7 separate regions of the Homo sapiens genome follow, and regions 1, 2, 3, 4, 6 and 7 are each linked to region 5. Evidence: promoter capture Hi-C in human tissues and cell types (Jung and others, 2019). All regions are on one chromosome and are shown on one strand. The core of a region is centred on a gene start or on the middle of the fragment in contact, and the rest is flanking DNA. Distances in the headings are between cores, read along the strand shown. Region 1 overlaps MCU (mitochondrial calcium uniporter). Region 2 overlaps MCU (mitochondrial calcium uniporter). Region 3 overlaps MCU (mitochondrial calcium uniporter). Region 4 overlaps MCU (mitochondrial calcium uniporter). Region 5 holds the start of DNAJB12 (DnaJ heat shock protein family (Hsp40) member B12). Region 6 overlaps MCU (mitochondrial calcium uniporter). Region 7 overlaps MCU (mitochondrial calcium uniporter).

Evidence for each region. The method cuts DNA at HindIII sites, captures the fragments that hold promoters and counts their contacts. A contact is called where the count stands out against the background at its distance.
Region 1: a fragment that was not itself captured here is called in contact with the fragment with the promoter of DNAJB12 in region 5 in 2 of the 25 tissues and cell types used here (lymphoblastoid cells and mesenchymal stem cells).
Region 2: a contact is called between a fragment that was not itself captured here and the fragment with the promoter of DNAJB12 in region 5, in 2 of the 25 tissues and cell types used here (H1 embryonic stem cells and spleen).
Region 3: a fragment that was not itself captured here is called in contact with the fragment with the promoter of DNAJB12 in region 5 in 2 of the 25 tissues and cell types used here (lymphoblastoid cells and stomach).
Region 4: a contact is called between a fragment that was not itself captured here and the fragment with the promoter of DNAJB12 in region 5, in 1 of the 25 tissues and cell types used here (dorsolateral prefrontal cortex).
Region 6: a fragment that was not itself captured here is called in contact with the fragment with the promoter of DNAJB12 in region 5 in 1 of the 25 tissues and cell types used here (heart right ventricle).
Region 7: a contact is called between a fragment that was not itself captured here and the fragment with the promoter of DNAJB12 in region 5, in 1 of the 25 tissues and cell types used here (dorsolateral prefrontal cortex).

The regions. Positions count from the first base shown.
Region 1 is chr10:72,808,857-72,812,929 of GRCh38, forward strand. All of the region lies in intron 1 of MCU (mitochondrial calcium uniporter), which reads left to right. Among named protein-coding and RNA genes, the nearest start is that of OIT3, 83 kb to the right of the region's middle. The HindIII fragment of the contact is 7,136 bases long and covers 1-4,073 here.
Region 2 is chr10:72,855,560-72,859,855 of GRCh38, forward strand. MCU (mitochondrial calcium uniporter) reads left to right here. Exons shown (of 8, transcript NM_138357.3): 3 at 3,618-3,788. Among named protein-coding and RNA genes, the nearest start is that of OIT3, 36 kb to the right of the region's middle. The HindIII fragment of the contact is 7,322 bases long and covers 1-4,296 here.
Region 3 is chr10:72,709,000-72,713,137 of GRCh38, forward strand. The region is part of intron 1 of MCU (mitochondrial calcium uniporter); the gene reads left to right. Among named protein-coding and RNA genes, the nearest start is that of MIR4676, 10 kb to the right of the region's middle. The HindIII fragment of the contact is 7,468 bases long and covers 1-4,138 here.
Region 4 is chr10:72,782,752-72,786,554 of GRCh38, forward strand. All of the region lies in intron 1 of MCU (mitochondrial calcium uniporter), which reads left to right. Among named protein-coding and RNA genes, the nearest start is that of MIR4676, 64 kb to the left of the region's middle. RefSeq lists a silencer at 620-914. The HindIII fragment of the contact is 4,735 bases long and covers 1-3,803 here.
Region 5 is chr10:72,352,979-72,356,988 of GRCh38, forward strand. It overlaps DNAJB12 (DnaJ heat shock protein family (Hsp40) member B12), which reads right to left and starts at 1,941. Exons shown (of 9, transcript NM_017626.7): 1 at 1,787-1,941. The coding sequence starts at 1,919. RefSeq lists enhancers at 1,398-1,527, 1,918-2,167. The HindIII fragment of the contact is 25,714 bases long and covers 1-4,010 here.
Region 6 is chr10:72,755,519-72,759,817 of GRCh38, forward strand. All of the region lies in intron 1 of MCU (mitochondrial calcium uniporter), which reads left to right. LOC124902450 (a long non-coding RNA gene) reads left to right here. Exons shown (of 2, transcript XR_007062189.1): 1 at 1-4,299. Among named protein-coding and RNA genes, the nearest start is that of MIR4676, 37 kb to the left of the region's middle. RefSeq lists an enhancer at 1,411-1,910. The HindIII fragment of the contact is 4,389 bases long and covers 1-3,702 here.
Region 7 is chr10:72,735,250-72,739,175 of GRCh38, forward strand. All of the region lies in intron 1 of MCU (mitochondrial calcium uniporter), which reads left to right. Among named protein-coding and RNA genes, the nearest start is that of MIR4676, 16 kb to the left of the region's middle. The HindIII fragment of the contact is 4,157 bases long and covers 238-3,926 here.

The DNA.
Region 1 (4,073 bases), core at 1,306-3,805, 460 kb after region 5:
GAACAGCAAGGGGGAAATCCACCTCCATGATTCAGTCACCTCCCACCAGGTCCCCCTACCGAAATTGGGAAGTAGAATTTGACATGAGATTTGGGTGGGGACACAGAGCCAAACCGTATCACCTTGGAAATTATAAGATGTTTTGTCTTTATCCTTTCAGCAATGAGGAGCCAGTGAAAGTGTTCTGAAGAGATGATAATATCATCCAGTCTTTCTGTTGGAGAGTGACTGGTGCATTCTGATGGATATATTAGAAGGACAAAAGATTGGAGGCATTGTAGTAGTAGTAACAATAACCATTCTGTTTTGAGTGCCAGGCACGTGCTCACTGTGCTTAATGCTTTATATGCATTAGCCCTTTGTCACCTCACAACATCTGGATTTATCTAAACAGAAACTAAGACTTGAGGCAGTCAGTGGAACTTGCTCCAAACCACAAAGCTAATAAATGGAAGAGCTGGGATTCAAATCCATTTGTGACTTTAGGGCCTCTGCTCTTAACCACTGAATTATATTAATATTCATAGAAAAAAGAAGGAACAAAAAGAAGCAAAAAGGGTGATGGTAGACTTGATGAGACTTGGAATTGGCTGGGAGTACAAAGTGAAGACTCTAAAATGGCTATGGGTCTTAAAGCCTGAGAGACTGACCAAAAAGTTTGACGTACAATTAATTGAAATCGGAAACATTGGAGTGGAGCAGGTTTGGGAACATATTTTACTTCAGGGACTTAGAGGTATATTTGATAGAGCTATTCTAATAAGCAGCTAGAAATTTGAATCTGAAAATCAGTACAGAAAGGACTCAAGACATTATTTTCATTGAGATAATAACTTGAAGTTCTAAGAAAGGTTGAGCTCTCCAAACAGAATAAGTATGAAAAAACAAGGGCAAAGAATAAGCCTTGATGAGTATTTTGGGGATAGCTGGAAGAGCAAGAAGGCAATAAAGGAGACATAGAAGTGGTCAAAGACAGTAGAGTAAGAAGTAAATTCAGGAACTCCTAGAGTGTCATAGAATTCAAAGAAAAGAATTTCAGGAGGGAGGAGGTAGTCAGCAGTATCAAATGTTTCCAAGAAGGCATAATAGTATGAGAAATGAGAAAATATCAGTGGGAAGTAGGATTAGTGAAGGCAGGCTTCTGTGTGTGCATGTGTGTGTGTGTTTGTATGTGTGTGCGCGTGAACATATGTGTATGGGGGTGGACATAGTGTAGAACTAGACATGTCTAAGGTTGGAGAAAGGAGCTATTGAAGTTGGAGACATTAAAGATGCAAGAGAGAAGAACTAACTGAAGAAGTAAAGGTATTCACCTTGCAAAGGAGTGGGGAGACTTCTTTCCCTGTGTTAGAGTGAAAGAAGAGAAAAAAAGAAAATTGAGAGAAACTTGGTGTTGGAGAAGAGAGGAATTGTGAGGGTGAATTTCAGAAATTTCCTATTTTACTGGTTTCAGTAAAATAAGAGGTGACGTCTTTGACTGAGAGGCAGGAAACAGTTCTGAACAACTTCTGTAGGGAAGAAGTCTGAGAGTCCACTGACATATGTGAAAGCATTTAGTGAGTAACATGATTTTGTAGTGACATCAGTTAAGACAATTATGTTGCCTTTTTTTTTTTTTTTTTTTTTTTTTGACGGAGTTTCGCTCTTGTTGCCCAGGCTGGAGTTCAGTGGTGCAATCTCGGCTCACTGCAACCTCTGCCTCCCGGGTTGAAGTGATTCTCCTGCCTCAGCCTCCCAAGTAGCTGGGATTACAGGCGCCTGCCACCACGCCCAGCTAGGTTGTTGTTGTTGTTGTTGTTGTTGTTGTTTTGTATTTTTAGTAGAGACAGGGTTTCACTATGTTGGCCAGGCTGGTCTTGAACTCCTGACCTCAGGTGATCTACCTGCCTCAGCCTCCCAAAGTGCTGGGATTACAGGTGTGAGCCACTGCGCCTGGTCTGTGTTGCCTTTTTCTCATAGGCCTTGCTTTATCCCACAGCAGGAGTTGATGAAATAAATTTACCAGAAAGTAAGGATTGGCACAGTAGGTCTAGGAGGTCAAGGAAACCAAAATGCCAGAGAACATAGTTAAAATAAGGCTTATACTGAGTATGGAGATAGTAGAGAAAGGACAATAGGCCTGGAGAATATTGAAAAGACTTGGTAACTTCTATTGGTTATATCCAGTAAGAAACCTCCAACCTGCTCAGCACATGCTTTTAGAAATAGCTATTCAGTGTATACTTTATTAGTTTACCAACTGGGGTCACCCTTTGAACCAAAATAAACATGAATCTTTTACTGCCAATTTCTCAAGGCGAAAATGCGTAATTTATAATGTAGGAAAGATAGGCTATAAAATAGTTGATAAGATTTAAGTCTAGATTGCCTTTTCAGTTCGGTTGTGGTGGCTGTTGTTTGAGAAAAAGGTTATTGATGTTAAAGGATAGTTGCATTCTAGACGCAATGAGCCAAAATAGAATTTGTTGCGAACTTGTTAATGTGTTCATGTGTGTTTTTTGTTGAAGTGAGTTGACATTTTTATGACAAACATTTTTTTGTGTCTGTTGTAGTTGTTCAATGAGAAGAGGGCCAATATAACCAATAGACTTGGTCCTCTACTAATCTGAATAATAAGACTTGTTTTGTAAGACCTGTGGGGTCCCTTCAGATTATTCTTACAATTGGATTTTCTTTTCTTAACTAAGCAGCTACTCAATCTCTCTTTGCTTTTCTTTCAATGACATTAGAGTTCCAGAGCAAGAGGAAAGGAATCTTTCACTCAGTTTAGTTTGATTGAAAAGGCCCACTTAATTAAAATGTGTAAGTTGTCTTTGAGCTTATCATTTAATGATTTTCTTCTATCTCTGTATTAAGAGACTAAGTAATGATAATGTTTTGAATTTTTGCAAAATAAATTTCATGTTAACTAACTTATCTTTGAAGATAAAAGATAATTTCTCAAGATAACATGTTTTGAAAAGAATTTTACCAAAAGACCATACTGGCTTTTTCAGTATTATTTTCATATACATAGAATTCTGAATGCTGTCTTTTCCTTTATTACAGATATATTCAGAAACATTTCCCTGTATCTTCCTTCTTGTTTAGTTAAAAAATAAATTTTATTCAGCCAACCCTGTGTTCCTTGTCATTTATGTACTAGATACACTTGAAAACAGTTTCCTATATTGAATGTATTTTAGGAAATAATATTATTTACCTATTCATTTTGGATGTTTATAGTGCTTTTTTTTTTTAACATGGAGAGTAAAATGCTTTTAATTTGTAATTTCAAGGTTTCTTTTCTTTTTGTTTTTTTTCTTTTTGAGAGGGAATCTTGCCCTACTGCCCAGGCTAGAGTGCAGTGGTGTGATCTCGGCTCACTGCAGCCTCCACTGCCCGATTCAAGCAATTCTCCTGTCTCAGCCTCCCGAGTAGCTGGGATTGCAGACATCTGCCACCATGCCCAACTAATTTTTGTATTTTTAGTAGAGGCGGGGTTTCACCATGTTGGCCAGGCTGGTCTCGAACTCCTGAGCTCAGGTGATCCGCCCGCCTCGGCTTCCCAAAGTGCTGGGATTACAGGCATGAGCCACTGCGCCCATACTCCAGATTTCTTATACTTCATTATTGATATGAGGTGGAGACAGTGGGCAGAGCAAAAGAGTACAAAAGGAAGAAAAGTGACCAGAGAGAACAGAATTCTATGCAGAGATTTAGTGGTTGAAGACATGATGCAAAAGGACAAAGGAACCTCAGGGATGGTCTCTAGTGAGTAATCTTTAGTATTCATTATTGAGATATGCTTTAAAATAGTATCATGAAGGGCTGTTTTCTGACATAAAGGGCTGTTTTCTGACATAACTTTCTATCCTTACAGAAGCAAATTGTTGCAAAGCAATGTAAAGAGGAAGTAAGCTTTCTTCAAACCATTACTGCTTTATGTAATGTTTTATCAAATGCTTTGGCTTTATGTTGTCCGGTTTTTAGTGTCCTGTGGGAGGTTGGTGGAGAGGAGTATCCAGCCCTGAGTAAATTCAAAAATATGCAGCTTGACAAGTTAATCATCTCTGTGGCTTAGTGCTTCAAGA
Region 2 (4,296 bases), core at 358-2,857, 500 kb after region 5:
AGACAGATTAGGACCCTGTCTCTAAAAAAAGAGATTAAATTATAATAAATAGTGATTAAATGAAAAAATCCTTTTTAAAGAGATTAAAAGATAGTAAATCTAAAAATGGCAAGAATAGAGGAAAAGTAGAAGAAAGAACAGTAGGGTCAAAAAGAAAATAAGTAGTAAGATGGTAAGACTTATATTCAGCCATACTTAAATTACATTAAATGCAAATAATATACATACTTTAATTAAAAGGCAGAGATTGTTAGATTGGATAAAATAGCAAGACCCAACTATAAGCTTTCTACAGGAAACTCACTTTAAATAAAACATGGATAAGGTAAAAGGATAGGGAAAGATATACTATGAAAACATGTCACACAAAGGCTTGTATGCAAATAATCATAAAAGCTTTATTCATAGTAGCCAAAACCTGGAAACAACCCAGATGTTCGTCAACTGGATAAACAAGTTGTGGTGTGTCTATGCATTGACACCCTTCTCAGCAATACAAATGAATGACTACTAATGAACTAGTTAATTAATGAACTACTAATAACAACATAGGTGAATCTCATAATCATGCCAAGAGAAAGAAGCCAGATATAAAAGGGTCCATAGCGTGATTTTATTTATATAAAAATCTATAAAAACCTAATATAATCTGTGGTGACAAAATCAGATCAATGGTTACCCAGGGATTAACTGGGATGGGGATCAGAGAATTTGGGGGAATCATAGAAATGTTCTTTATTTTGATTCTTATGTAAAAACTCATCAGATTTCCATTTTAAGTAAGAATGTATTTTGTTATTTATAAACTATGTCTCAATTAGGTTTATTTCTTGAAAATTCAAATCATGAAAGATTTTAGTGTGAAGATTTTGTATATAATGTAGGCCTTATGAATTACTAGAATAGACAAGGAAATAAGATGTAAATGTCTACAACTACAACTATGGAAAGCTTGATGCATTTTGGATTTCCAAAACATTAATCTTAACATATGTTTGCTATAAACTCTTTGATTAGTAGGGATATAAATCCTTAGAAGCATAATAGAATGTAATTTTTGACTCTTACTTTATTTTTAAAAATTGTTTTTAGAAGCCAGGCATAGTGGCTCATGGCTTTAGTCCCAGCACTTTGGGTGGCCAAGGTGGGTCGCTGCTCAAGCTCAGGAGTTCAAGACCAGCCTGGGCAACGTGGTGAAACCCTGTCTCTAAAAAAAAAAAAAAAAAAAAAAAAAATAGCCTGGCATGGTGGTGCACGCCTGTAGTTCCCAGCAACTTGGGAGCCTGAGGCAAAAGAATCGCTTGAGCTTGGGAGCTCGAGTCTGCAGTGAGCTGTGATCATGCCGCTGCACTCCTGGGTGATAGAGCAAGATGTCTCAAAAAAAAAAAAAAAAAAAAAGGTTTTAGACATGGGGTCCCACTCGGTTGCTCAGGCTGGAGTGCAGTGGCACAATCATAGCTCACTGTAGATTCAAACTCCTGGGCTCAAGCAATCCTTCTGCCTCAGCCTCCTGAGTAGCTGAGACTACAGACACATGTCGCCACATCTGGTCAACTTTTGATTCTTCAAAGAAGCTAGTAAGGAAACATTATCATTTATGTATCATGTAATATGCTAAGTGTTTTAAATTATTTATGTATTTCACTCATTTCTCACAACAGCTCTGTGAGTTAGGGATTAAACCCCCCCCTTTTTTTTTCAGACAGATTCTCACTCTGTTGCCAGGCTGGAGTGCAGTGTCGCGATCTTGGCTCACTGCAGCCTCCACCTCCTGGGTTGAAGTGATTCTCCTGCCTCAGCCTCCCGAGTAGCTGGGACTACAAGCGTGCACCACCATGCCCAGCTAATTTTTTTATTTTTAGTAGAGACAGGGTTTTACCACATTGGCCAAGATGGTCTCAATCTCTTGACCTCATGATCTGCCCACCTCGGCCTCCCAAAGTGCTGGGATTACAGGCATGAGCCACCATGCCTGGCCAAAGCCCATTTTATATACGAAAAAAGTGAGGCTCAGAGAAGTTATATAATACACCCAAAATTACAGAGCCAAGGTTCAGTCCCATATTTGACTCCAAAGCCTGTTTTCTTTCCTCAGTGCTAACATCATCTTTAAATGCTCAGTTGCTTATGTAAAAATTTTTTATTTTAAAAATGCATTTTTAAAAAAATGTATGTGAAAATTATTCCAAAAGAGGGCTATTTTGATAGTTGTTCTACTGGGACCCTACAAATCAAGAATACTGAGGGAGAAAATAAGGAAATAGGCATTCTATGCTATACTTTTGTAGAAGATCCCTTCAATTTAATAGTTCATAATAAATTTTCCCTTCATAACATTTTGTTATAAAATCTTAAACATCTGAGTTTTGGTTCTGTCTAGCCAAGCTCATGAAGACATTCAAGAGAACATGAATTGTTTTTGATAGAATGCTAACTTATGACAACTGAAGAATGGCGAGGTTCATAAATTTGGAAAGGAGACCTATATTTCTCATAAAGGTTGCAGGCTGCAGGGTGGCCATTCTGACAGGCTGGGAAGTGTAGCCTCCATTCAGAAGCCAAAAACAGACACTTTGAGGAAGAGGCAAAAAGAACAGGATGCATGCTGAGCAGGGTGGCCAAATATACATACTCAGTACGCTATAGGAGAGGCCATGCATATTTATGAAAGGAGAAATGTGTGTATGCACAACTGATCTTCATGCCCCTTCATGGGTCCCGTGTACAAAAAATGGCTGCGTCAGCATGATCTGAGGGTGGAGTTTTCAGCTCTCTGGCATCAAAAGATGAAGCAGAGGGTGTGAAAACCCTCACTGCGCATTCTCTGTAGACTGGCCAGAACCACTCCACGGTCGGTGGCCTCTTGTCAGGCAAAAAAAAGGGGCAGTGTTGGTCAGTTAATTGGTTGATATCAGTGGTGGAGTCTTCTGAAAGGGCTAGTTTCTCTTAAGCCCTTAGGAAAGAATGCCTAATGGTGGCTAGCAAGGAAGGGGTATAATGAATTGTGTCTGACCTCCCATCCTGTCATGGCTGAGAACTTAGCTTTAAAGGTTTACCCTGGGGTCCCCTTGGCCAAGAGGGGGTCCATTCAGTCAGTTGAGGGGCTTAGGATTTCACTTTTGTTTCTCACTTATCAGCTTGGATATAATACTGTACTATATATACATGAATTGACTGTTTTGGAGTAAGAGTCTCACTTATTAGTGTACTTCTTGAAAGCTCTGGATCCCGAGAGCCACGTCCTACAGGCTATGAAGTCTAGCCCAGCAATCTCTGACTGCTTAATAAAATCTTGCTAAATGGAACCAGGGCTTGTATTCACCAATATCAAGAACTTCACCTGATATCCTTGGGAAAGCCTCTCCTTGACCCACTCAGAAGACAGTTCCTTGCCTGTTTTTTCATATCTGTAAAATGAGCTATGTGATCCATTTGATCTTTTATAAGCCAGTTCCCAGAATAACCTTCAACTAAAGCTAAAGGGCATGTTCTTAAACCTTCTTTGAAAACATTTTAAATCACACTAATAATAGACCCCCATGCAAGAATGGTAATAATGTGACTTTAACTTACATTGAAATCCAATTATCATATGTTTGTGGGTCTTTTTCATTCAGATGTTACAGTGGTTTATCAAAATGGGTTACCTGTGATATCTGTGAGGCTACCATCCCGGCGTGAACGCTGTCAGTTCACACTCAAGCCTATCTCTGACTCTGTTGGTGTATTTTTACGACAACTGCAAGAAGAGGATCGGGGAATTGACAGAGTTGCTATCTATTCACCAGGTATAGTCACCATCATTATTAATTACCATCTATCCCTCATTTCACCCCACACCATTTCTAGACACATACATACACCACACACGTAGCTACAAAAGAACCCTATACTGTTAACTTCAGAAAACTTTTTTCTTTTGCTTAGCACTTACCAGGAGAGAAAGGGATTTCTCTCCCAGTGGTACTCAGAGTATAATTGATCGGTTTTAGCAAATGTGTATGCACAGGGAATCTCATTCAAAAGCAGCTCACATATAATGCCATGAGCAAGGATGAACAATCAATCACATTTTATATTATTGAGACTTTTTATCATTACTTTCGGTGTAGAATAAATACTTCCAGTAGTTAAACCCTCATCTCTGGAAAGAAAAGTTTGCCAAAATAAAGAAGTATATAATTTGAAAAGAATATAAACTAAGGCACTAAAAATTACCATTTTATGTATTTAATTTATTTATTTTTTAATCTTTTTAAGTTTTTTTCCCATTGTGTTTTCCCCATTTTTACTTTA
Region 3 (4,138 bases), core at 980-3,479, 360 kb after region 5:
ACCCTATCTCTAAAAAAAAAAAATTTAAGAAATTGATACAGTGGCATCTACCTGGCATGATTGGTGGGGGTATGGGCCATGCTGGACACTGCAGAAGAGAGAAAGGAACTATTTCAAAGAGGTGCTGCCAACTGTAGATTCTTTCTGTATATATATATTTCCAAAGAAGGCAGATTTTTGGAAGTGTTTATTTTGGAACTAGTCTTGTGTATTTCCATTCTGTCCCCACTGTATCCTGTATTTTGCACTGCCAGAATTCTGATAGCTGCCGTGAAGCAGGGCTGTGGCAAGTGGCCAAGTGTGATAAAAACCTATTTTTCATTTTAAAACAATACAGATGTCAGAATACTTTAAAGAAGTATTTAAAGATAGATTGAGTAGAATGGAACAAATAGTAAAAATCTAATGAGAAGATTGAAGGTTTTTCATTTGCTTTTGATGGAATTACATTTTTTGGAAACAGAAGAATACCAGGTTATGTCTTTCTTGATCTGTTAGTTTCTCTCTCTTTCTCCCTTTTTCCTGATCTGTGAATGCTGGTGCTAGACACTGCTGAATAGACAGGAAAAATGGATTTTCTGGTGTTTTTTTTTCTTTTTTGAGGGGACCCCTAGGGTATACTTTGTGTGAGTATCTGACTAGATATAGATATAGATGTCAATAGTTTGGTTTTGTTTATTTATTTTCTTGTTTTAACCCCAAAGAAAATGAAATCTTGTTTTCTTTTTATTTTCAGCTGTGACTTAAACGTTAAAATGCTGCCTAAGCACAGTTGAGATAGTAAAACAGGATTTTAGTGTAACATATTACAGAATTTTGGAATATTCATTTACTTAATGGACAGCTGAACTCCAGTCAGTGCTTTCTTTAAGTTTAATGTCTCATCCTGCATTGGTGTTCGATTCAGAATGAATTCAAGTTCTTAGTGTGGCCAACTGCCACAAAGTTGGGTGAACTTTAAATACATAATGGCTTTCTGTTTTGTTTTGTTTTTGAGATGAAGTCTCGATCTGTCGCCCAGGCTGGAGTGCAGTGGTGCGATCTCAGGTCACTGCAACCTCTGCCTCCCTGGTTCAAGCAATTCTCCTGCCTCAGCCTCCTGAGTAGCTGGGACTACAGGCACATGCCACCATGCCCGGCTAATTTTTTGTACTTTTTAGTAGAGATGGGGTTTCACCATGTTGGCCAGGATGGTCTTGATCTCCTGACCTCGTGATCTGCCCCCCTCAGCCTCCCAAAGTGCTGAGATTACAGGTGTGAGCTATAGCGCCTGGTTAATGGCTTTCTTTTTAATGATTCTAGAGCTTTTAACATGAGAAAGTAGAAAATGAAAGGAAACTATAATAGATTTCTTGCCTAAAATGGGTGTTCTTTGTAAGATGAAAAGTAGAGACAATCTGAGACCCTGAGTTATGGATCCGAAGGTCACATCACAGCCAGCATTAGACAGTCATAGCACTAGTGGAAGAAAAGGCAGAAGGTAAACTACTGATGGGAATGCTGTCAAAGGAGCTCACTTGGAAAGGCCATTCCATCACCTAAGGTTTTTTTTTTTTTTTTTTTTTTTTTTTGGTGGAGGTGGAGTGGTCCTTTATAAGGAAATTACATTATGTTCAATCAGACATACAAGGACAAAAATCTTTTATTTTTAAATTGTGAAGTATGTCATGTCTATAAAAAGTAGAATAATATAATATACAACCTTTAGCTTGAGAAATTGAACATTATGATTATAATTGCTGCCCCCAAGTACCATTCCTTAGACCTCTCTCCCAAAAGTAACATTCTCTTAAATTTGATGTTTACCATCCCATGAGTGTGTTTATCCTTTATCTACACCTATCTTATATAGTTTTGTAAGAATGTTTTAAAACCTTATTTAAAAGGTATTAAACTGGCCGGGCGCAGTGGCTCATGCCTGTAATCCCAGCGCTTTGGGAGGCCAAGGCAGGTAGATCACCTGAGATCAGGAGTTCAAGACCAGCCTGGCCAACATCATGAAACCCCTGTCTCTACTAAAAATACAAAAATTAGCTGGGCATGGTGGTGGGCGCCTGTAATCCCAGCTACTTGGGAGGCTGAGGCAGGATAATTGCTTGAACCTGGGAGGCAGAGGTTGCAGTGAGCCGAGATCATGCCATTGCACTCTACCTGGCAACAAGAGCGAAACTCTGTCTCAAAAAAAAAAAAAGTATTACACTGTATGTATCCTTCTGCAAATCTTTTTTTTTTTTTTTTTGGAATGGAGTCTCCCTTTGTCAACCAGGCTGGAGTGCAGTGGTGCGATCTCGGCTCGCTGCGATCTCCACTTCCTGGGTTCAAGTGATTCTCCTGCCTCAGCCTCCTGAGTAGCTGGGACCATAGGCGTGTGCCACCACACCCAACTAATTTTTGTATTTTCAGTAGACATGAGGTTTTGCCATGTTGGCCAGGCTAGTCTTGAACTCCTGACCTCAAGTGATCTGCCTGCCTCGGCCTTCCAAAGTGCTGTGATTACAGGCATGAGCCACTACGCCTGGCCTTTTTTTTTTTTTCCCTCTTAATACTTAAAAAAAAAAAAATTAGGCCAGCACAGTGGCTCATACTTATAATACCAGCACTTTGGGAGGCTGAGGTGGGAGGATTGCTTGAGGCCAGTAGTTTGAGGTTACACTGAGCTATAATTGGGCCATTGCACTCCAGCCTGGGGATAGAGCAAGACTGTGTTTCTTTTTTTTTTTTTTTTTTTTTGAGACAGAGTCTCACTCTGTCCCCCAGGCTGGAGTGCAGTGGCACAATCTCCATTCACTGTAAGCTCCATCTCCCGGGTTCACGTCATTCTCCTGCCTCTGCCTCCCGAGTAGCTGGGACTACAGGCGCCCACCACCACTCCCAGCTAATTTTCTGTATTTTTTAGTAGAGACAGGGTTTCACCGTGTTAGCCAGGATGGTCTCGATCTCCTGACCTCGTGATCCGCCTGCCTTGGCCCCCCAAAGTGTTGGGATTACAGGCATGAGCCACCGCACCCTGCCCAAGACTGTGTTTCTTAAAAAAAAAAACCCAAAAAACAAAAAAAAACTTATTTAGTTGATACATGTGGTTCTGGTTCATTCATTTTTAACTACTTTGGCGTTTCTGTCTCTATTTCATATATTTAAACCTCTGTTAACTGACAGACTTTTTGCTGAATATTCTGGGGGACAGGAAAAAGGAATTTATTATGTCATTTTTAAAGTTAGACTAGGAATGCTGTTTTGACTTTCAAAACCAGTTTTCCTTTTTTGGTGTGGAATGTCCTCGTTTATCATATTCCTGGGAAAATCCTTTGTACTTCCTGAGAGAAGGCAGAGAAGAAGAATGTTTTATTACATAGATGAACATGTCTTGTACAAGATACAGAGCAGCATCTGCCACAAAACAGTGAGCTCGTGGGGGATTGAGCTGCTGCAACAAAAGCCTGGGTTACTAAAATTCTCAGATATTTCAAGTGCAGACAAGCTGTGGGTGGAAATTTGTTGGCATTAATTCATTGTTTCTTTTCTGTGTGTTTGGAATTATCTGCAATTTGGGTACTATCTGCTTTATTTTGTAAAAGGAGATGCGCCTTTTATGGTAAAAAGGCTGTTCTTGAATTGTGTCGTGGTTTTATGGGGCAAGCAAAAGAAAAGTAAGGTCTAGAAATGAGGGGACATACTTTTTGAGACAGGTAGTTGGTGTGAAATAAATATTTGTTTTAATAATAATTCTGTACATATTAGTCAATGTATATTCTTACTTTGAAGTCATTGTTTTAAAAAGACAATCTCTGATAAAATTTTATCTTCTCAATTTCATGCTGTTGTCTTTCATTTCCAACACTCTTGATAATGGTTTGAACATTTTTGCAGAGTACACAGGGCAGAGCTTCATTCAGGTTGTCCCTCCAAATGATTTGCTGTAGTGCATTAACCAGAAATGCTGAGGCAGCAAGGGAAACACTAATAAATTGGATGGTTTCCAGGGACTGTCGCTACGGCAAGCAAACACAAGCCAAAATTAAAATGTTAGTTAGGCACCCAAGATATAAGTCTGGCCAGATATGCTATTAACAGTGAATCTTCCATTCTCATTAAATTATTTGAGATCTGTACAATTTGAAGATTGTTACAAATGGTGACC
Region 4 (3,803 bases), core at 980-3,479, 430 kb after region 5:
ATGTGTGTCTAGTTCCTCTCACTAGTTTCTTGCATATAGGGCTTATGTATTATTCGTATCTTGTCCAGCAAAGCCAGTAGCTTCAGAAGTTATTTTGATTCTAGTGCAGCTGTGTTACTGTGAGCCAACATCCTGCAGAAGGAGTTTAGAAATATTTGTGACTGGTTATGTCTTTCACTGAACCTAAGGCAAACCTGAGCAATTTGCAGAATCAGTTGAGGCTTAAATATGAGAGCTTATATTTAAGCTTCCTATAGGAAAATGCGAAGGGAGTTTCTGGCCATGGAAAAAGGAAATAACTCAGTTTGTTTGAAGTATTTGTGGAATGCACTTTAAGCATAATCAATATTCACCCTAAGTACTTCATTGAATAGTTTGAATGAAACCACCGCATTGTGTGTGCTCCACCTTGGTAGAGAATGTCAATGTGTAGACTTTTCAAATTAGATTTTATCATCTGGCATAGGCATACCACCTAGTTACATTATATGTAGAGCCTCCAGATACTTTAAAATAGATTATGTTTTACATTCCTTCCTATCCTTTCAGAACCATCACCTTCATGTCCAAAACAGTGTGATGCTATTCATTTTAGAATATTATTGAGGACATCACACTGGTGGCTCTTTGAAGGGATGTGTTTTGGACTCAGGTGTGGAACTGCCACATGCCACTTATTCAACTCTTTGGCATCTAGGAGGCTTTGCATATGCCATGTGCCACTTATTCAACTCTTTGGCATCTAGGAGGCTTTGCATATGCCATGTGAATCCTCTCTTCCTAGGAGAGTTTACTTAGTGGAGCAGTGTTGGGATTTCTAGCCTGGTTTCTTCTGAGGAAAAAAACATGTCAAGTTAAACCTTCCAGGATAAAGAGAGGATTTTGTTGGGGGGAGCTGTTGTATCTGAAGTGTTAATATAGAGCAAATGCAGTTTATTTTCTCAAAGGAAGGGAGAGAGATCATGCCAAGAAAAACGCATAGAGTGGGGTGGAGTGGAGTTGGGAAAGAAAATGTGACAAGTACCTAAAATCAAATGCCTATAGGAAGGATTTTCCCCATGATTAGCTCCAAATGTTGGGGAGTGGGGAGGATGTTGCTTGTTTCTTTCTTTATTTCTTTTTAAAAAATTGTTTTACTTTGTTCTTGACTCTTTAGTTTCAAAAGCAGATTAAGGAAAAGCTTATTAGGAAGTCTAGAGCCATAGGCACTATAGAAATTACCAGCCCCCAAAAGTCAATACCCAGTTACTTTACCTTTTTGGCTGTTCCACGTAATTAACCCTGCTGCTTGATCCAAGTGAAGCCGGGGGAAAGCCGGGCACCGTTGGATGGTGTAGCTCCTTGCTTAACCCCTCATGTTGTACTGCAAAGATGAATGCCCACTTACCTGGATCTCTCAGGGGATGACATTTTCCAAAAGAAGATTTTCTTCTGCTCCCTCTTGAGAACAATATAAAGAGTATGTAATTCAGAGAGATTACTTTGAATTTCACTAAAAGGGAAGTACAAAGGCTTTGTTTTTTCAGATCCTATCAAATTAATACTGTCACGTTTGGAAAATGTTGCTCTGTTTTGATAGATCTCTTAGAAGGATGTGTCTTATGCAAATAGTAATTGTGATTTTTAAAGCTAATATAAATGTGATTCATTTACTTAAAATCAAGCCACCTTGTAGCTGTGAGTAATTTTCCCATTTTGTTGAAGGTAAGTACAATTTTTAATTGGCTACATTTGGTTGCAGGAGAGGTTAAAGAATAGATTTAAGTAGGCATGTCTGAAAAGGACAGAAAGTTCCACAAAGCAGTTGTCAGCAGGGATTAGATCTCTGGATGTCCTTGTTTGTCAGGAAAAGCCTTCTGTGTATCCAGTAGCTTCTGAAAATGTTAATGTGGCACTGTGCAGGGAGTCAAGGGAACAGTCTCCTCATTTTCAGTGCAGGATGCTAGGGAAAGCCTGTCCGTATGTGTGCGTGGGTGTGTGAGTGAGGGCTGGCTGTGCACCCTGCCTCTCTGGCTGAAGTAAGTTGCAGAGCAGCTTTGCCTTTTCATGGGCTTGGGTGTGGGGAATCCCTCCTACCAAGAGTATTTTGGGAAATTCCTAAATGCTGATGTGTTCTCAGCTCTATATAATGCCCTTGTTGGAGTGAGGAGCAAAACACACATGGATAATGATTTTAAAGCACCAGTCAACCAATTCCTGGTGTGTGTGTCTTTTACTTGCTTGATAGAGCTGTTCAAGGAGAATCTTGCGTTGTCAAGGATTTTAGGCTTCTACATAGTACAGGGATTGCTCTTCTTTTCCTTTTCCAGGGCTCTTCCTGTCTCTAGATATTTAGCATACAGATGCAGTTTCATGATGTAGCACGAGAATCTCCCACATTTCCACATATATTACACAGTCGGCGAAGCAAGTGGTAGTGGTGGCTGCTCCAGCCAAACCTGGCAGTGCTACTGCCGTCACTTTTCTAATAACCTTGGTGTCTCTGCAACAAGGTTAGTGGTGGTGTTTACCAAAGCTACAACTTTGTTTCTCCTTTCTCTTTCCCTGCTTCTGTTGTCTCCCTGTCTCCCCTCCTGCTGCCCCCTACCACTTAGGTTAATGAACTTCCCTGTGGTATGCAGAAACTAGTCAGACATGCATCTTTAAAACACATTTTAGAGTTTTCAAAAATGTGCATAATAGAAATATATCCTAAAGTTCAAAAACATTCTGAGATTGTCACAGTTAGTGGCAGATTAAGGAAACAGAATATAAAATAGCCAAATATATTCCAGGAAGTCATGCTTGTTGAGTAGGCATTTATCTGACAGATTGAAATGAGCTTCTTTTGTGTGTTGGCTCATAGTCCAGAATTGCAAGTTTTTCACTTTTAGTGTTTATGTAAAATTCTCCTGCTGGCTCATTTCATGGAAATAAAGGCTCACTTCATCTGTAACTTGTATCTGTAGTAAGACCCTTACAAGGGCTGCAATTTTCATCTTGGTTTAATTTGCAAGAAAAACATTATTATGTACGTATAGCTACTTGTTTTAATTTAGTGTCAATTGTCAATGTCGTAGTAGAAATGGATGAAGAAAATCCTTTTGGAAAGGAGATTTTTATAGAAATCAAAGGAGTATTGCCCAGCAACTCTTAATAGGTGTTTACTGAATATATACTATGGGAATGTATTGCACGCTTTAGAGATTCTAAAGAATAACATATCCTTGCCTACAAGGTGTTGCTTACCAATTTGAGGAGATGAAGATTGTCCGTAGAATAGGGACTGAACAAGCACTGTGTGAAAAAACGGTATTATGCTGTGCAATAAAATTTCAAGAATAGGATAATACATAAAGGAACGATTTGCTGTGGAGATCATTTCATTATATGTGAGATTGATGTCCAGAGATGTCATCCAGTTTAGTTAATGTAGTTCTGGCTAGCTGTTTGTGGAATTCTGGCTAGTTTGTTTTTTTAATGTCCTTATCCTGTTTCTTGTGTTATACTTGAACACATCAACATAGAGTGAGAAGTTACTGTTTTTGTTACCTAAAAATGAGTCACATAGTAAAAAGAGATGGGTTGAGAATCAGATATATTTGATTTCAGATCCTGGCTGTGCTCATTCTTAGCTCTGTGTGCTCTGTGTGCCTCAGTTTTCTCATTGGAAGAACTGGAATGTAAGTTACTAATTTACAGATTTGTTGGGATTAAATTATTTTGAAGCATGGCTGGGTGCCATGGCTCTTTCCTATAACCCCAGCACTTTGGGAGGCTGAGGCGGGCAGATCACGTGGAGGTCAGGAGTTCGAGACCAGACT
Region 5 (4,010 bases), core at 691-3,190:
CCCAGGTCTTTGTCAGCTCAGTGGAGGGCTGCAGATGGTAAAGTTTACACGGATGCATAAGGCGTATAGTCTCATAGTCTTTCCAGAAAAGCACAAATATGACAAATATGCATGCAGGTGGTTCTTCTGTCTCAGCAAATTCCAGAGCCTGAGCCCCAGAGAGGACACTCCTTCAAGCTCCTGAACTGGTGCAGGGGCCTGCTGACAGAAAGATCCCCAGAGGCCCTGTGGCCCATCCTTTCTTGGCTGCCTGCTCCTGAGCCCGCAGCAGCATCAGTGTCAGGCAGAATTCTGACAGCTGGAGGATACCACCCCACCACAGAATATGAATTAATTCACAGGGAGGCTCCTCGAGCAGGTTACCTCAGGTGTCCTGGCAAATACAGCCCGAAACCCTCTCCAAGGGGAGGCAAACAGGCCAAAGATCAACCTGCAAGAGTCCGGAGGGAGGAAAGTTCAGCAGTCCAGGCTACCTCTTCCACCAGCGTTCCGCTTTCTCAATCTCATCAGGCGGGCAGGGCCGGTTAGGAGGCTGACTGCTGTTCCTCAATTTCATTTCTTTTCCTTCATAAACATTTACAGAGTCACAGAACATTTTACTTTCTAGCTGTGTCATCCTGGGCATCCCTTACCTCAGAGATTTTCCTCACCCATAGAATAAAGATAATGATCTTTGCTCTGCATCCCTGACTGGCAGGCTCAAGTGAGAAGGCACAGGTGAAGGAGCTTCCTAAACTGCAAAGCCCTATGGGTATTATTGCCAATCACATTATCTGCGCCAACCCTCTAATCTTCCCGAGGAGGAAACCCAAGCTCAGGAAGGTCACGTGGTAGCCGTCAGGATGAGACTGGGCCCTTCGGAGTGCCTGTTATTCCCAGACGGTTTACTGAGTGGTGATCACAAGCACCACCCGGTGTCTCTCTCCCCTCTAGCGTGGATTAAGAAAAACTCCTTGGAAAACTTAGGTTAAAGAAAAAAGAAAGGGTTCCCGGGTGAAGCGAGGTGATGAGTTGTAAAGCCAGCTTCACTCTTCCCTCCCTGGCTCAGGAGGCTCCTGTCCAGGGCAACTCAGCAGCCTCGGCGTCCACATGGCTGACCGCCGCTGGACTCTTGCGGGCGATGGAGGACTGGCGGTGGCTGAGGTCAGCACCTCCCACCAGGCCACCCGCTCCGAATCTCATCATCGGGAGGAGTGAGGGGCCCGGCTTCAGGACAGTCCGAGGCGGCGGACTGGGGTGGGTGCAAAGGCCGGCTTGCATTTTGGGAGAGTGGTCCCTGACCCTCAGCCCGAGAGGTGAGAGGGAGTGAAGATACGGAAGCGCCTTTCCCTGGCGCCCGAAGAACAGAAATGTCTCCCTGTCTAGCGCCCATTCTCTCCCTTAAAGGAGTTATGTTTATTTTCCTGAACTGTAATATTTCCCAGGCCGGCGACTGGCCTGGGCTACCGAACGGCCCCTTGGGAAAAGTAGTTCGAGTTCACTTCCAGGTAAGTTCCCTTCGTCCCGGCTGCCAGCGCGTTTCATTCTCGGAGACCTCAAACCCCAGCGGGCTCCGCCAGCACCCCGAAAGCTGAAGTCCCGGCCGCCCGAGTCTCCAGACGGCTCGCATCCCGCAGAGGAACAAGAGGGAAAAACTACGCCTCCCAGCAGCCACCGCGCGCCTCAGTGCGCAGGCGTAGCCGCGCCTCGCCACCCCTCCCCCTCCCCCAACTGCTCCCGTCGGTCCGTTCCCGTGTTCCCCCCATCAGTTCTAATGTCCCCAGTCTCTCCGGCACCTCACACTCACCGCGAACTCGCGGCGTCGGATACAGCCGCTGTGCCTTCTCCAGGAAGCGGAGCGCCCGGTCGGGCTGGTTGCTCTGGATGGCCTTGAGGGCGATGCTGATACAGCGCTCAGCTTCATCCTTGTTGGATTCCATGGCGGAACCAGAACGCGGAACCAGGGAGGGGGAGGCCGGGCGAGCGAAGGGCTGCGCCACCCGCCGGCGCGTCGCGGGCAGCCGGGCGCGGAGTGATGACATCCACCCTCCGCCCCTCCTTTCCCGAGTTTTGAGCGAGGGTGGAAGTGCTACCGTATGTCTTCTAAGAAAGGGACGGCTGGTGTAGGTGTCAATAATGGTGCACGCCCAGATTCCATGTTCCGGAGGTCTTAGAGTTGAGTATGCGCCAACCCTCTAATCTTCCGGAGGAGGAAACCCAAGCTCAGGAAGGTCACGTGGTAGCCGTCGGGATGAGACTGGGGCCTTCGGAGTGCCTGTTATTCCCAGACGGTTTACTAAGTGGTGATCTATATACGTAATGTAACTACATACGTTTCAGACAAAGGTTATTTATTCACTGAACAGATATTGAGTGCCCACTGTTTGTGAGGCATGGTTTTATGATGGGGATACAGGGGTGAGCAAAACAAAGCTCCTGCTCTCATGGAGCTTACATTCCAGTGTGTGTAGGCTGGGGGAGCTCCAGATAGATTCAGATAGTGATAAAAGCTCTGAAGAAAAATTATGGAAAACACAGGGATAGAGAGTGGGAGGCGCTATTTTAAATAGCGCGATAAAAGAAACCTCTCAGAAGCTGTCATTAACAGGTACCAGAATTCAGGAACGATAACAGGTAGATGTGACTGTCTGGAGGAAGGGTGGTCAGGCCGAAGGAACAGCAAGTGCAAAGGCTCTGAAAAGGGAATTCTCTTGGTGAGTTATAACAGATCAGGAAGGCGAATACATTCTAGGGAGCGTAAAGATTCTACTACAGGCTGGGCGCGGTGGCTCACGCCTGTAATCCCAGCACTTTGAGAGGCCGAGGCGGGCGGATCACTTGAGGTCAGGAGTTCGAGACCAGCCTGACCAACATGGAGAAACCCCGTCTCTACTAAAAATACAAAATTAGCCGGGCATGGTGGCACATGGCCTGTAATCCCACCTACTCGGGAGGCTGAGGCGGGAGAATCGCTTGAACCTGGGAGGTGGAGGTTGCGGTGAGCCAAGATCACACCATTGCACTCCAGCCTGGGCAACAAGAGTGAAACGCCATCTAAAAAAAAAGAAGAAAAAAAAAAGATTCTACTACAGAGTGTAATCCAGTTCTATCATTATCCCGTTCTTCGAGGGCTATCACTCCAGTGAAAGCAATCTTGTGAAGGTTGCCAGTGACCTCCACGTTGCCGAATCCCCGAGTCATCTGTCAGCCCTTACATTGCTTGGCCTTTCAGGCAGGATTTGGTAAGATGCTACTACAGTAATCCGGATGAGAGTCAGGAAGCTACTATTATAATACAGGTGAAAATTAATGGTAACTTGGATAAGGGTGATGGCGGAGGTGGTGAGTAGTAGTAAAATTCTGGATATATTTTGAAGACAGAATGACGCAATGGATGTGGGCTGTGAGAGAAAGAAGATTCAAGGATGATTCCAATGTTTTTGGCTTGATAACTGGAAGAAGAGAATTTCTATTTACTAAAACAAGGAAATGGAAAAGACTACAAAAGCAGTTTGGTGGGGGAATATTAAGGGTTTGATTCAGTTTATGATGCTTTTTAGAATCAAGCAGAGATACAGACTAGGATGTTGTACATACGTAGGGTTTAGGCAAAAAGGACCTGGAAATATAACTTTGGGGCCAGGCACAGTGGCTCACTCCTATAATCCCAACATTTTGGGAGGCCAGGGGTGGGAGGATCACTTGAGGCAAGGAGTTTGAGACCAGCCTGGGCAACAGAGTGAGATCCCATCACTACAAAAAAATAAAAAATTAGCTGGGTGTGGTAGTACACGCCTGTAGTCCCAGCTACTCAGGAGGCTGAGGTGGGAGGATCACTTGAGCATGGGAGGTCAAGGCTGCAGTGAGCTGTGATATATATATATATATATATATATATATATATATATATATATATATATATATATATATATATGCACCAAGGAAGTGAGTGTAGATGGAGAAGAGCAGAGAAGTCTGATTACTGAGCCTCACGAAATCCCAACATTTAAAGATCTGGAAGAGGAAGAAAA
Region 6 (4,299 bases), core at 258-2,757, 400 kb after region 5:
CCTATCCAATGAGTTGTGAGTACTATATGAGTTAAATACATGAAGCATTTAGAATAGTGCCTTGCGCATAAATATAGTAAATACATTAAGTACTATTTAAGTGCTAACTGTTGTTATTGTTATTAATATTAGATCACTATGAGTTTGCACTTGTAGCCTGTAATTCAAAGCAATTTGAACGGCGGAAGCATAAATAGATAAATGATCATCTAAATATGGCATCTCTTCAACCCTTGTTGTTGTTGTTGTTTTTGCCAGATAAGAGTTTTCAAAGGTTGTGCCAGAGTACTTGCTTTAGGGATATTAGCCCAATTGAAACCATTTTTTTTTTTTTTTCATTGAGACAGAGTCTCTCTCTCTGTTACCCAGGCTTAGAGTGCAGTGATATGATCATAGCTCACTGCAGCCTCAATCTCCCAGGGTCAAGCAGTCCTCCCACCTCCGCCTCCTGAGTAGCTGGGACTACCGGTGTGCACCACCATACCCAGCTAATTGTTTTCTTTTACATGTTTTGTAGAGACAAGGTCTCGCTTTGTTGCCCAAGTGGGTCTCGAACTCCTGGTCTCAAGTGGATCCACCCACCTCAGCTTCCAAAGTGCTGGGATTACAGGTGTGAACCACCACACCTGGCTAATTTTTTGTGTTTTTATTAGATACAGGGTTTTGCTGTGTTGCCCAGGCTGGTCTTGAACTCGTGAGCTCAAGCAATCTTCCTGCCTCAGCCTCCAAAAGTACTGTATTACAGGTGTGAGCCCGGCCAAAATCAGTTTTTAAAAGAGGTTTACATGGCCGTATGGTATTCTCTTTCTTTTTTGGAAACAATACTATTTGTACCATGTTGTGTTATCAATCTATGTTTGGATTGTTAGCATTTAAGAACTACATTTTTCAGTAGATTGCTCTAGGTTATAGCCACTAACAATTACTTATACATAAAAATTTTCTTTTGAGTCATTAGCCAATTTGGGGGGCCTCTCAGGAGAAACTGCATAATTCACTGGGTGAATGCAAGTTCATTGCTCTTGGAGGCTGTGATAGCATAATCATTGCTTGCTGTATTCATGGTCAGTACACCTTCTGATTTGTTTTTAGTAGTAGTTTTGCCATATTCAAAGAAGAGCTCAATCTGAGGAGACTCCTTGATTTGACCTTACTTTGGCATAGCTAGCATATTACCTTAAGTTAGTGTTTGCCATCTATTTTGTTCCCTGACATTCTCTGTTGACGTTTTATGCCCCGCCCCCCGTGTCCAGCTCCCCTCCTCACAATCCCTGCCCCCTGCTGCCATCTTTAGCACTGGAAAGTTAAGAGTTTTGATCTCAGAGTTCATCAACTCAAGCTTTTGCTTTTTATTTGTAAAAGAACCATGTGAAGCTGGGCTCAGTGGCATACACCTGTAGTCCCAGGTACTTGGGAGGCTGAGGCAGGAGGATTATTCGAACTCAGGAGTATGGGTCCAGCCTGGATAACGTAATGAGACCTCCATCTTGAAAAAGGAAAAAAAAAAAAAAGAAAAGAACCATACGAAAGTACATAAGTGTATGAAAAAGCTACTTAACATTTCAAAAAGCAGTAAATGGCACATTGTCAAGTGAGTGGTTTTATCAGTCAGGGTCTCACAAGGAAAACAGAAACCATTTCAGGCATTTACAACAGAAGGAATTCAATGAGGGAAAATTATAATGCAGATAGTGAAAGAGCTGAGAGCCAAATAGGAGATGGTGAGGTAATGTAGAGATTAGCAACGGGAATCACCACCACCACCTCCTCCAGCTGAAGAAACAAGGGAGATGTGACATTATTGTATAAGGAGTACAAACAATATTGTTTCAGGGAAAAACATGAAAAAGGAAAATATAATTTGGGACAAGTACAGTGTGCTTCATCTCCTTCTTCCTCCTACTTCCCCAACCCCCACCCAAAGAACATACAGAAAGCTCTGTAAAAATTGCTAGTTTTTGAATGGAAGCTTTTTACTTTTTCTAAGAGGTGCGAGCCTGTGTGTCAGTGCTAAAATATAAAAGTAGTTTTTTAAAAGGCCATAAAAATTGGAGTAACATCACCTAGTTCATAATAATTTTTTTTTAATCTCTAAAGAGGGAAAGAATTTATGCCTAGCTAGCTGAAGTGGTCTGAAGAGATAATTTGAAGAGTTATTTGATAATATAAGCCAGTGTTTTTCCCCAACTAAATAATTCTGTCCCCCTCCCCCATGAGAATGTTCTTTGAAGCAATTGTCAGAGAAGAAATATAATTTTTCCTTAACCCTCATAAGTTCATAGTTGGGGACAGACCTTTGTGACAAATGACAGATTAACAAGCGAAAAACAAGCAGGTGTATATTCACGTGTGCAGTGCACATGATGCAGGAGAAACCTCAGTGAGAAGTAATTCAAAGCAGTGGCTTAGAACACTTGCCTATGTAGCATCTTCAACAAAGAGCAATGAATTTTCCAGAAGTGACAAGACAAAGAAAAGCAGGTTAACACTTCTAAAGGTGGGGAACTATGGGAAGGAAAAGTAAATATGTGGCAGTAAACTAGTGGAGTAAGATTTGTGATCCCTCTGGTGCCATATCTGAGTTGATAAGTTGTCTCCAGTAAAGGAGAATTTATATCTTTAGGTAGAAAAGCAGGAGAGGAGGATAGAAAGAGCTCTTCCTTTATTCATTAATTTTTCTCAACTCCCTCTTCACAGATTTGGTTAAGAGAGTCTAAAACTATGTTGTCCAGGTTGGCCTCAAACACCTGAGCTCGAGTGATCTCTCATCTCAGTCTCCCGAGTAGCTGGTACTACAGCCACATGCCATTGCACCTGCTTCTTCGGTTTAAAATATTTATGTCAAAGAGGAATATTTTGGGGTGACATATTCTGGCTTCCTTTACAGCCCTCTGTGCTATATCATGTCCACAGATACAGTTGTGTATTGGTACACAGAGAGACGGTGTGTAAAATCTCAGAGAATTGATGGTGTATGTATGAAACCTCAGAGAAACTGCCACCCAGAGAAAGGGAAATAGTTACTAAGGCAGTCTATTTCTTTTTTCTGAAAGTATGAATATGCAACTTTCAGTTACTAGAATTAATTTACTTCAGGCTGCTTGTGGGTGGATTAGATTAATTGATGAGTATTGGTCAAGAAATAAACCAATGCTTTTGCTGAATGGGCCAATTTTTTTGGCTTTCCCTAAAAGCAGAAATCACAGAATCATAAAGGTAATTAAACCATGGTTTTCATGGCTGTTTAATCTATTTTCTTGACTTTGAGAAATTTAGTGTTTGAGGCTTTTAAAAAATCTCTCTTTTCCGTAATATTACTTAAATTTTCTATTGGAAACACAATTTTAAGACAGAATTAATAAGTAGTGTGGAATAAGACAATGATAATACACTTAGAATAAGGTTTGAAAAATGCAGTATTATTTAATGGAATGAGCTTCAAGATAAAAAGGCTCTAGTTCTGTTTGTAGCTCTGTACCTGTTTAGTTGTATTATTAAGGTTTGTTGCTGAACCTCTTTATGTCTGTTCCGCAAGTCTGCATGTAGGGTAATAGTACTTCTGTTCATCTGTAGCAGGACGAGCCGCAGACAAAACTCCTCAAACACCAACTTAAAGAGGGAAGGGGTTTATTCGGCCAGGGTTATCGGCAAGACTCCTGTCTCGAGAGCCTAGCCCCCGAGTGAGCAATTCCTGTCCCTTTTAAGGGCTCACAACTCTAAGGGGGTGCGTGTGAGAGGGTCGTGATTGATTGAGCAAGCAGGGGGTACATGACTGGGGGCTGCATGCACTGGTAATTAGATCGGAACAAAACAGGATAGGGATTTTCACAGTGCTTTTCTATACAATGTCTGTAATCTATAGATAACATAACCGATTAGGTCGGGGTCAGTCTTTAACTACCAGGCCCAGGGTGTGGCACCAGGCTGTCTGCTTGTGGATTTCATTTCTGCCTTTTAGTTTTTACTTTTTCTTTCTTTGGAGGCAGAAATTGGGCATAAGACAATATGAGGGGTGGTCTCCTCCCTTAATCTTATAAACTTAGCATGAAGTTTAAATTAAGTCTATGAAATTTGTTTTAAAATAAAAACTCTCAGTACAAAAATAAATACTCTTACAGACTGAATGTTTCTTCCCCCCAAATTGATACTACAAATTTACATATTATAGGGTTGAAGCCTAACCCTCAATGTGACTATTTGGAGATAGTGGCCTGGGAGGAAGTGACAGAGGTTAAATGAAGTCATAAGGGTGGACCCCTAATCCTATAGGGCTGGTGCCTGTTTAAGAAGAAGACATGC
Region 7 (3,926 bases), core at 1,066-3,565, 380 kb after region 5:
AAAGTGTGTTGGGTTTTTTTTCAGACTAGAGATTGAAAATAGTTATCAGACTGAAAGAATTGACTGAATTGATTAAAACGTATTAAACATTGATAAGTGCAAAATCCCATATATGATCTAAAAAGTTAGTGTTATTGTAGATGGATGTGATGTGGTTTAATAGCAGGTAATATGAAAAATACCTGGAGGGTTTCACTTGACAGCATGTTCATCATGAGTCCACAGTATTATCTGGGCTCTATTAATAGAAGCATGGTGTCCAGAATGAGGACTATGATTGTCCCAAAGTATTGTGTTCATGTCTAGGTACCTTATTTTAATGGTAAACATTTAAAAACAAAGGCATATTCAAGAGAGAAACCAGAATGATCTAATGGGAAGGTAACTAGCCACTCAGTATTAGAATAAAGCTGTTGTAAGGTAGAGTGGACTGCCTTGGGAGGTAATCAGATCTATGTCACAAGATTTGTTCAAGCAGAAGCTGGATGAACACTTGGCAGGGACATTGTAGACTATTTTAGTTTCACTAGTTGGGTACAGGAGTGGAGAAGGTGCCTAATTATATAGAATATCTTTGTGGATCTTCAACCTTGATATTAATATTTGGTAATCATAGAACATTGCAGAATACTGGGGTTTAAAGTGTTAATAGTGGTTGTCTCTAGGGGATGGGATAGGAGACTGTCATTTCCCATGTTATGTACTTCTGTATTTAATTTTAGTTTCTACAATGAGTATATATTGCTCTATTAAAACAGTTGTAAACACTTGTTTCTTGGCTAGTGACATTGATGCAAAAAATATTCTCGTTTTGCAAATCAACACAAATTAATACTTTACAATTTTTCAAAAGTAACTTAGTAAATTACTATAAACAATTTAAGTGTTTAAAACCCTCTATTGACAGATTTGTGTATTCATGGACGTTGGATATATGGATTTTTTTTTGCCATTGGAAGACTGATTTGCTTCATTAGCCTTTATTCTTTTCTGTAGTTGATCTGGCTGGTGACAGTGAAAGTTAGCTGGGCTGTTACAGATCATTCTGCATGCTCAGATTTACCTTCATCTCCAAGGTTTGGATTATCAGATAACTAGACAGTAAGGCCCTGACTGCTGCTGCCTAGTACCCCTGTCTAAAGGTTTAGTCCTAAAAGGAAGTGAGAGTGGAAAAAATTGTTGCATTCTTAGGAAAATATTTCCTTCTAACCCAGACATCTTTTGTTTTTCCCCAGATGGTTCTGTTATATCCCCCAGAGACCAAGGGTTGGCCCTTTATGCTTATTAGGAAAGAAGGATTATGACCAACACTTGCATCCTGGGTATGTTTAGGATAAATGTTGCTAAGCTGCTTTAGTAAATAGATCGTAAACAGAAACTGAGCCACACCTCCTCCTGCCATTATTATCTTAGTAAATGTTTGCTTAGGATTTTGATTATTTAAATGCTGTAGTTCTCTCATGTACTTAACAAATCTGTAACATTTTGTCAGTAAAGAGATTTATTAATATGCTTCCTTTGCCTTAGCTCAATAGTGCCCTTTTGATGATTTTTTAGGCCAGGCATTTAGCAGTCTAAATGGTGGACAATCTTGGACATTGTTGCGTGCTGTCAACATAAAGCTGTTTGGTGTTTGAGATGGTAGTGCTAGGAAAAATGTGTTAGCATTTGCTAAAAGAGCTTTCACAGGCTGGTCGCTTTCAATGTTTAAAAAAAGTTTATGTAAGACTGTTGATACTTCACTACAGTGTTCCCAAAAGCTTTCTAGTCTTGTTAGTGAAGCGTGTGGGGTATATGAATTGTGGTTTAAACTCTAAATGGCCACAGACATTTTTCTTGAATATGACTCTTAACTTGCTTTCTCTAAACTTCAGTTTGATACTATAGCGGTTGTTGATACCATAGTAGTTGTGTAGTTCAAATTCTCCAGTCATGAGTTTTCATTCTTGGATATGGTAGTGTCTTTGAGGTCAGGAAGAAAGAACAGAAGTCACTAATGTTAATAGCAGAAACTTTAACATTATAGGAATAAAAGTGGTAATAATAGATGAGCAGAAACCTCAATTCAAGAAATACTTGTTTCAAAAAATTATTATTCTGTACCTTCTGTGTAAAATGCCCATTGCTAGGCCTGGGCCCCAGACTTTAAAGAGCATATAGTCTAGTTGTATTGGGTCGATAATTTGAAATGTAAAGAGAGGGGGTAAGGGAAGCAGCCATGTATGAATTCCTTAGAAGGAAAGTTGGCGCGTTATTTCCCCTTTTTCTTTCCTTTTTTTTTTTTTTCAGAGATGGTATCTTGCTCTATTGCCTGGGTTGGATTGACATGGTGCGATCTCAGCTCACTGCAACTTCCACCTCCTGGGTTCAAGTGATTCTTGTGCCTCAGCCTCCCAAGTAGCTGGGACTGCAGGTGCGCACCACTATGCCTGGCTAGTTTTTGTGTTTTTAGTAGAGATGGGGTTTCACCATGTCGGTCAGGCTGGTCTTGAACTCCTGGCCTTAAGTGATCCTCACCGCCCCAACTCCCAAAGTGCTGGGATTTCAGGTATGAGCCACCATGCCCAGCCTATTTCCCCTTTTTCTGTTTCTTACCTTTGACTTGAAGTTCAAGAGTGAGCTGTATAGGCACCAGGGCAACAAGCTGTTTCTTATATTCCTAGGAACTCCGTATTCTTTCTGCTTTTAAGTTGGCATGGGAGCAGGGATGAGCAGTGGTATTGTTGCGGTTATCTTCAGGTACAATTGCTGCTTTAGTAGTCTTTAGGACTTACAGGCTTTTGGGAGTTAATGTAGCTGGATAAATATTTTAAACGAATGAGAAAACCTAGACTGGACACTGGGAACAGAGTTACAGTCTAAGTAAAAACCACTGGAAAAAGCTTTCAAATTCTGTAAATATAACAAAACTAATAATTATAGTAATTAAGAAGAATTTATTTGGGGAAGGTGAAGGGGAAGTTGGAGTAAACTTAATAAGTATCCTGGGGGCTCTGAGAAATTGCTCCCACTCTTTCTTCCTTACTTATATGTCCAACAAATCAAAAATAGCCTCCTGGAGTGAAGAAGAGAGCCAATCATGGTATAGCAATAAAGTAAGTATATCCTACATGCTGGATTTAGCTTTTAGATTGAACAAATGTTAGAAAAGACTCTTTTCCTCTGATTTGTGCTATTTGTTTTAGATAAAATGGGGCAGAAAAACAAAGAGCCTTTCTAGAAAGTTTATGCTAAACAAGGAAATGTGGATTTTTAATTGTCTTGAGAAAAGAAATGTTGAGTGCTGATAGCTGTGATGTTGACATCTCAGCCCGTATTTTAATAGTTAAGGTTTATAAATAACAAAGCCAAAGGAAATGTTATGTAAAACTTACAGTTTCTTATCTGTGGAAATGCTATATTTGGCACCCAGTTTATAATGGTCACTCCTCTGCTTAAAATCCTGTGTTGCCTGTTGCCTGGACAATGAAGCTTGAAATCTGTGAACTTTGGTATTGAAAGCCCTTGATGGTTGAACTCAGTCTAGCCTTCCAGGCTATTTTTTTCTCCTTTCCTTTTTACAACGGAGCCTTTTGCTGTGCTAGATTCCTGAGATGTGCCTTATGGTTCTCTGACTTTGTTCACATCTTTTTGTGTGGGATATCCTCCTGTTCCTTTTCTACTGGTCAAAATGCTCGGTTTTTTTTAAGGCTTCAACTCTTTTGTTTTTACTATTATTAGGACACTCTTCTCATTATTATATTCAACTAGAGCCAAAAACATATTTGGTTATGTATGGGAAGACACATAACTATGTGCACTTATACAGTGTGAACAGTATGGTTTAAATGTCATGCCACAGTGATGTGCTATATATTATAGATGTATAATAAATTATAATTAAGTTATTGAAGTAGAAACTATGAATTGAGAGAGTCTAGGTGTAA